Linked DNA regions of Homo sapiens: region 1 is linked to region 2. The links are contacts of gene promoters, found by promoter capture Hi-C in human tissues and cell types (Jung and others, 2019). All regions are on one chromosome and are shown on one strand. The core of a region is centred on a gene start or on the middle of the fragment in contact, and the rest is flanking DNA. Distances in the headings are between cores, read along the strand shown.

What was found. The method cuts DNA at HindIII sites, captures the fragments that hold promoters and counts their contacts. A contact is called where the count stands out against the background at its distance.
Region 1: a contact is called between a fragment that was not itself captured here and the fragment with the promoter of HTR1B in region 2, in 2 of the 25 tissues and cell types used here (dorsolateral prefrontal cortex and mesenchymal stem cells).

What each region holds. Positions count from the first base shown.
Region 1 is chr6:76,982,770-76,986,212 of GRCh38, forward strand. The region is part of intron 2 of LOC105377862 (a long non-coding RNA gene); the gene reads left to right. Among named protein-coding and RNA genes, the nearest start is that of LINC02540, 390 kb to the left of the region's middle. The HindIII fragment of the contact is 7,110 bases long and covers 1-3,443 here.
Region 2 is chr6:77,462,046-77,465,734 of GRCh38, forward strand. It overlaps HTR1B (5-hydroxytryptamine receptor 1B), which reads right to left and starts at 1,446. Exons shown (of 1, transcript NM_000863.3): 1 at 1-1,446. The coding sequence starts at 1,358. The coding sequence ends at 186. The region is part of intron 5 of LOC105377864; the gene reads left to right. RefSeq lists a silencer at 312-456. The HindIII fragment of the contact is 6,434 bases long and covers 1-3,689 here.

The DNA.
Region 1 (3,443 bases), core at 809-3,308, 480 kb before region 2:
TGATAGTGGATATTCAGAAAAAAATTTGAATTGCGGATTGTTCTAAATTCATTGCAAATTAACATCTGAGACGCTGAATTTGTAACATAGATGAATGATTACAGAAAGCTTTACGGGGAAATGAATCTTAGATAAAATTTTGCTAGAAAGGGAGATCCCAGGAGTGTGAGATGCAATGGCATGCATAAGAATGTGGAGGAGGTAAGGACTCTTGGTGTGGTGCATATTGGTAGGGGTGGTTTCTTAGCCAGCCTCAGTGGAATACAGTAGGAAATCTCAGCCACAGATGTACAGTGGAACCATCTGGAGAACTTTTCAGCCCCATGTGTTCTTTGCCCAAAACACACTAATAAAATCCATGGGAGCTTGTCAGCCAAATTGGCAAGCTATAGCTGCTGACAGAAGTAGTTGTTCTTGCATTTATCCAAAAAAGCAAGACCAAGTCACCTTCCATATGAGGGGTCCATTGCTTAAAACAATTCTGGTCCTTATGACCGTACCATCAGTGGGGAAGCCTGATGTGGCAGAGAGAGAGATACAACACATGTAATCATTGAACACGTCAGGATTCAGTTGTGAGTCCTTCCTGCTTGTATGTTATTATGAATGTGATAATCCATACATCTTTGTCTCTTTGCTTCTCAGTGTATGTTTAAATTGACTTAATTACCAACCCTTTCAAGAATTTTTGTTTGGTCTGTGAACTTTTCAATTCTGTGACCTCTTAAATAGCTTGCTCAGTGCATACTTGGAGGCCACAACGGCAACAACATAATTTACGACATGATGTAACCTATTTTTAAAATGTTCCACAAGTGGTTTTAATATGCAGCTCAGTTAAAAACTGCTGGGATAAAGAATTTGAAGATCCAAAGGAAAATTACAGATGGTGAAGGACTTTAGATGTGATGTTAAAAAAATATTTCTATTTTGTTACATAGGAAACCAGGAGTCCTTTAAATACAATAATAAAGATATAAAATTTGTGCATCTTTAACATTGAATTGACAGTGGTATGCAAGTAGGACTGGATAAGGGAGATGACTAGATGCCTAACAGGAAATTAGAAGTGTTGAAAAAGACCAGTTTGGTGAAATAAACCTAGAATAAGATGATAGAATCTGAATGGAAAGGAAGAGGACATTTTGGTCGTCTTAGATCCATTCACTTCCCAATTCATATTATGAAGGCAGTATTAACGAAGTATAAAAACCAGACAAAAATATCATAAGAAAATAAAACTATAGACCAATATCCCCTATCAACATACATTCAAAACTCTTTAACACAATTCTTAACAAATTATCAGCAAATACAATCTGGAAACATAAAAAGTCTATACTATATACAATGGTGGTTTATACTAAAAATGCAAGATTAATTTAACTTTGGAGGTTTTTCTCAGTGTTCTACTCCATACTCAATTTTCAGTAGTCCCTGCCTAGCTGATTGGGTCATCAACTGTCCCACTTTGCCTGGGTCTGTTCCAGTTTTTTGTTTGTTTGTTTGTTTTTGAGACGGAGTTTCACTCTTGTTGCCCAGGCTGGAGTCCAATGGCGCTATCTCGGCTCACTGGAACCTCCGCCTCCCGGGTTCAAGCAATTCTCCTGTCTCAGCATCCCGAGTAGCTGGGATTACAGGCATGCACAACTACGCACAGCTAATTTTGTATTTTTAGTAGAGATGGGGTTTCTCCATGTTGGTCAGGCTGGTCTTGAACTCCTGACCTCAGGCGATCCACCTGCCTCAGCCTCCCAAAGTTCTGGGAATACAAGGTGTGAACCACAGAGCCCGGCCGGGTCTGTTCCAGTTTTAACCTACTTTCCAGAAACCCCTCCCTAGGAGGCAGAAAATTTTGGCTTTTTGGTGATGGGGCAAAAAATTGATGGAAATGTACAAAACTCATGCTGTATTTTCCAAAATAGTGGCTGAAAGCACCCATGTTTTTAGTTTCAAGTGAATACTATATGATTTGCAGTTCATGACAATGAATCATCCATGATTCATCACACTGATTGATATGACTTAAATGTGCAATTTAATAATTATGACCTTTAGCAGTTCATCTTTGATTTTGCCCAGGGATTGACTGTTATGCTTAGTGCTACTTTAGCTTTCAACATTGTGAATATTGTGACCATGTTTTCTAAGTACTAAAATTATGAAGCAATTGCAATATGAAAACAAGCATGCAGAAGACATCACTGAAAAAGTAGGATAAATTACTGGGCAATTTGAATAACAAATGAAAGGACACACACGACTGGAATAAGGGGATAAATAATCAAAACAGAGCATAGTGTACAATACATAAAAAAGAATTTGGGCTTAAACACAGGGGAGAAGAGAATAAGAAAGCACACAGGAAGATGGAAGCTTTGAAGTCCAACATGCAATAGGCAGATACTTCAAGCCAAGAAAAAGTTTTTAGCCTCCCCAAAAGAAACCAATGCTCAGATAAAAATAAGGGTGACTGAATTTGTTTGGGGATACTACATGATCAAACATATATTAAAGTACTGTTCCTTTGATTGCTGTATGAAACTCAATAAATATACATTTCCTTATTCAAAACTGGCAATTAAAATGTTCTGTGGAAGTACTGAAGAGAAAATTTTAATAACAGATGTGGTGCTCCCTTCAGTATGGAGATTCCTTAAAATCTTAATGAAGATCATGCTTTCCAGAGTATATAAAGTGATTTTTAAAAACTTTTATTTTAATAAGTTCAGGGTTACATATGCAGGTTTGTTATTACATTTGTAACATGTGCCATGGGGATTTGTTGTAGAGATTATTTCATCTCCAGGTATTAAGCCTAGTACCCACTAGTGATTTTTCCTGATCCTCTCCCTCCTCCCACCATCCACCCTCCAAAATGCCCCATTGTGTGTTGTTCTCCTCTATGTGTCCATGTGTTCGCATCATTTAGTACCCACTTATAACTGAGAACATGCGGTATTTGGTTTTCTGTTACTGCATTAGTTTTTTTGAATCACGGCAACAACAAGAATATTCGTTTCAAACAATTAGAAGGAACATTTATTTGAGTGATAGAGTCTCAAATCACCTTTTTGATTTCTATAAAGGTTTAAATGAAATGTAAGAAAATATAAAACTAAAGATTATGGATATTTTTGTCCAAATACACAGTATACTTTTCTTCTCTATCTGCATATTTGGCAAATAGTAAAAATGTAAATGTTGGCAAATGTAATTAAGTCTATAAACTTCTTCATCAAGGAAACCTGAAAGGTCTTATCTACTAAATGTCCTATACACCTTGTACACGACACTCCAAAAGGGAGTATAACTTGTTTACCTGTGATTTTGAGGTTTTCATAAAATTTTTTGTTTAGTTTTTAGTTTCCTCAAAATGCACAGGAACACTTAATGAGATTTTTTAACTTTATTAAAATGGAAAGAGATAGTCTCCTTAGATA
Region 2 (3,689 bases), core at 196-2,695:
CAACACTTCTCCTTTCAGAGCTCTCTCTCAGGACTATTCTGGCTTCTCAGGATCCATTGCCCTTGCCCAGGAGAGAGAGCCTCGCTGGGACCCAGAAACCGCGAAAGAAGATTCGACCTACCTGTGGAACCAGACACAACTTGGTCCCCAAAGGTCGCTTAGGCGACCCCACTGCAAACGGCAAGTCAACTTGTGCACTTAAAACGTATCAGTTTATGGAATGCTTGTTTAAAGTCCTCATTGGACATGGTATAGATTATGGGGTTGATGAGGGAGTTGAGATAGCCCAGCCATGTGAAGAAGTCAAAGATGGCTAGGTGGAACCAGCAGGCATCTTTGCAGATAGGCATCACTAGGGAGATGATGAAGAAGGGTAGCCAACACACAATAAAGGCTCCCAAAATGATCCCTAGGGTCTTGGTGGCTTTGCGCTCCCTAGCGGCCATGAGTTTCTTCTTTTCCAGCAGGGCGTCGGAGACTCGCACTTTGACTTGGTTCACATACACAGGAGATCCGGATTCGCTGGGCACGTCGGGAACCCGCGAGTTAATAGAGGTGACCGAGGACGTGGACCCGGGGGAGTCGGTTATCAGCTGGGCTCGGGTCAAGCGCTTGCCGGTCCTGTTGGGCGTCTGTTTCAAAATCCGGGAGCGGGCTTCTACGTAGATGCGGCCATAGAGGGCGATGAGGAGCAGGGTGGGGAAGTAGAAAGCACCCACCGTGGAGTAGACCGTGTAGAGGATGTGGTCGGTGTTCACCACGCATTCCGACACCTCCTCTTCGGCCTTAGCCTGACGCCAGAAGAAGGGCGGCAGCGAGATAGAGATGGAGAAGACCCACACCAGCGCGATCATGACCGCCGCCCTCTTGGGAGTCCTTTTAGCTGAGTACTCCACGGCGTCCGTGATGGCCCAGTAGCGGTCCAGGGCGATGACACAGAGGTGCAGGATGGAGGCAGTGCAACAAGTGATGTCCGACGACAGCCAGAAGTCACAGACCACCTGGCCCAGTGTCCAGCGGCCGGTGACAGTGTACATGGTGCTGATGGGCATCACCAGGATGGACACAAGCAGGTCGGTGACCGCCAGAGAGGCGATCAGGTAGTTAGCCGGGGTGTGCAGTTTCCGGGTCCGGTACACTGTGGCAATCACAAAGGCATTGGAGAGCGTGGTGGCCAAGGTGATGAGCGCCAATAGCATAACCAGCAGTACTTTCCAGGGTAGGGAGATGGAGTCCTGGTAAATGTAGTCCTTGGCGCTGCAGTTTTGGGAGGGAGCAGAGGATAAGTTGGCTTGAGGAACCCAGGTCTCGGAGCCCGCGGGCGGCGGTGGAGCGCACTGAGCACCCGGTTCCTCCATGGCTCTCCTCGCCCCAGCTCCGGAGCGCAGCTCTTGGGCATGGAGCGGACGAAGGAGAGGGCGGAAGGACCGTGGCGATCGCAGGTTTGTCCCCAGTTGATAGTTCCGTGAGTTCCTCAATTATTCCTCCGCCCAGGTTCACAGCTGAAACTAGAGGTCATGGGTGCGGCAGCCAAGGCAGGCGGGCGCCTCCCCTGCACTTCCAGAGCGCCTAGCTAAGCCGCCGCGTCTGTGGTTGTTCCTCTCCACACCGGGTCTTAGACCTGGGTTGCTAAGAGCTGGCCCACCGAGCCCTGCTCCGCTCCAGCTCCCTGGAGGCGTCTAGTGCAGGAGGGTGAAGTACTGCTTGAGGAGAAGGCTTTGACCAAATGGGATCTCTTACCCCAGTTGCTTGAGGCTGAGCGTCTCCTAACCTGGACGCTTTTGGATCTGCAGACTTTGCCCACAGGAGTTTCCTAGGTGTAGAGACCAAAGCTTGCAGGCCAGCGAGAGGTCCCGAGATCTTGCATTCCCACCCCTCGCCCCAAGCTGGGGCACTTTTGGGGGGCTGCAGCGGCCGCCAGAGCTGGGTGGGGTGAAGTCTAGGAGCAGCGCTGCGCCGCGCCTCGCGCCGGAGCTCTGCCCTCCCTCTCTTTTCACTCTCTGGCCACTCGGACGAGCTGCCCCGCGGAGACGGAGCCATAAAAGGGGGGACACGGGGGCTGGAGTTGCGGCTGCTCGGGCCGCGCCGCCGCCACCGCCACCCTGGTCCCACGGGAGCCACTCGGAGCCATGCCACTGGGTGCGCGGGTCTGGAGGACCTGGCGCGGCACACTGGGAAGGGGCAGGTGTCTGGGGGAGCTGGAGGGACGCGGCGTGCACCAGCCCGGGAGAAGCGTGCGAGCTACGGAGCAGATGGGCTCTTTATATAGAGTCCAGGTCCGGTCCGCCAGAGCAGTGCAACTCGTGCGGCGCGGCGGGTGCGGACGCCCGCTCCCCATCACCTTCCCTTTTTCTCTCTCCCTCCCTCTTTTCCCCCCGCCCTGTTCCTTTCCTGGCCAAGGAAGCTCCCGCCGGGTCCTACCGCCCTATCTCCCCGCTTCCCACCCTGGGCCATCCTCCCAGCCCTGACAACCTGGAGCTGCATTTCTGGTCAGGGGAAGAAGGCGTCCTGTTCTCGCCTCTACGGACATCAGAGCTTGCTGCGCTGACCTCCAGTGAGACCCATGTCCTTAGCCATGGTCACAGGTTTAGTCCAGCAGTCTGGCCCTAGGCTCCTGCCTACCACTCCCACCCTAGGAGGCCAGTGTTAGGCGGGGAAGCCCTGGTCTCTGACCTCTCCGCTCTAAAATCATATCCAGCCCTGATGGCCACACCCAGGTTAGGAGGCACCAGTAATATCGCTGTAGAGGGCCCAATGTTTGCATTTTGTACTTTGCCGTCCTTAACTCTTGATACAATAAAAACTATTTTTTCATCTAGTTTTAGAAATTTGTGTTTTTCACTCAACTATGAGTCAACAGGGAAAAAGACAAGCTATCTGCGAAAATGTAAAAGTTATCACAAACAGAAGCCAACTGTATGTGAAATTAAACCTTCTGCTCCACCATCCTCTTCCAGCTGCTCAGTGCTTCAGTGCCTCTGGAAAACAGTTGCCAGTAAGCGTGTTCCTTCCAACAGCCTACCTAGAAAGGAGGTCATCAGAATTCAAGAAAAAAGGGGGATGGTGGGGCGGGGAGGACTGGAACCATCATCAGCACCATCTTGTGTGTCTCCTTTGCCTTCAACTAATATGTGGGAATGTCAGCCATAAGCTGCAGCATGCAATACCAGTACCTAGGTCTCATGACCAGGGACGGATCCCCTGTCCTCAGTTTCTCCTCTGACCTCAACAGAAACAAATGTAGGGTAGAGATGCAAATCAGAAAGTATGAAGAAAAGCTCCAGGAAAGGACAAGGTATTTTCAGCTCGAAGGATTAAATGATCCCCACTACGAATTCCTAGAGCCTAGATCCATGTTTGGCACCTAGAGTGTATCTAATAAAAACTGCATTGTAAATGAATTCATCTGTTTAAGCGCACATATATTTTAAAGAGAATCATTCTGTGTCAGAACCTAAGGCTATCTGATCTGATCCCTCCACCCAGTTTTAGAGGAAGAGTAATTGAGATCCTTTGAAAGAAGAGCTTTTTACCCAAGGCAATAAAGCACAAACCCAAGTTCCCTTAATTCCCGGTTCTCTAAACCAGGCAAGCAGGCAAAAAATAGAGTGCCTACTCTATGCTGAGTATTTTTCTAGGCATCCGAGGTATGGAGGCCAGTGGGAGTAGACTCAGACCCTCTTTTCCAG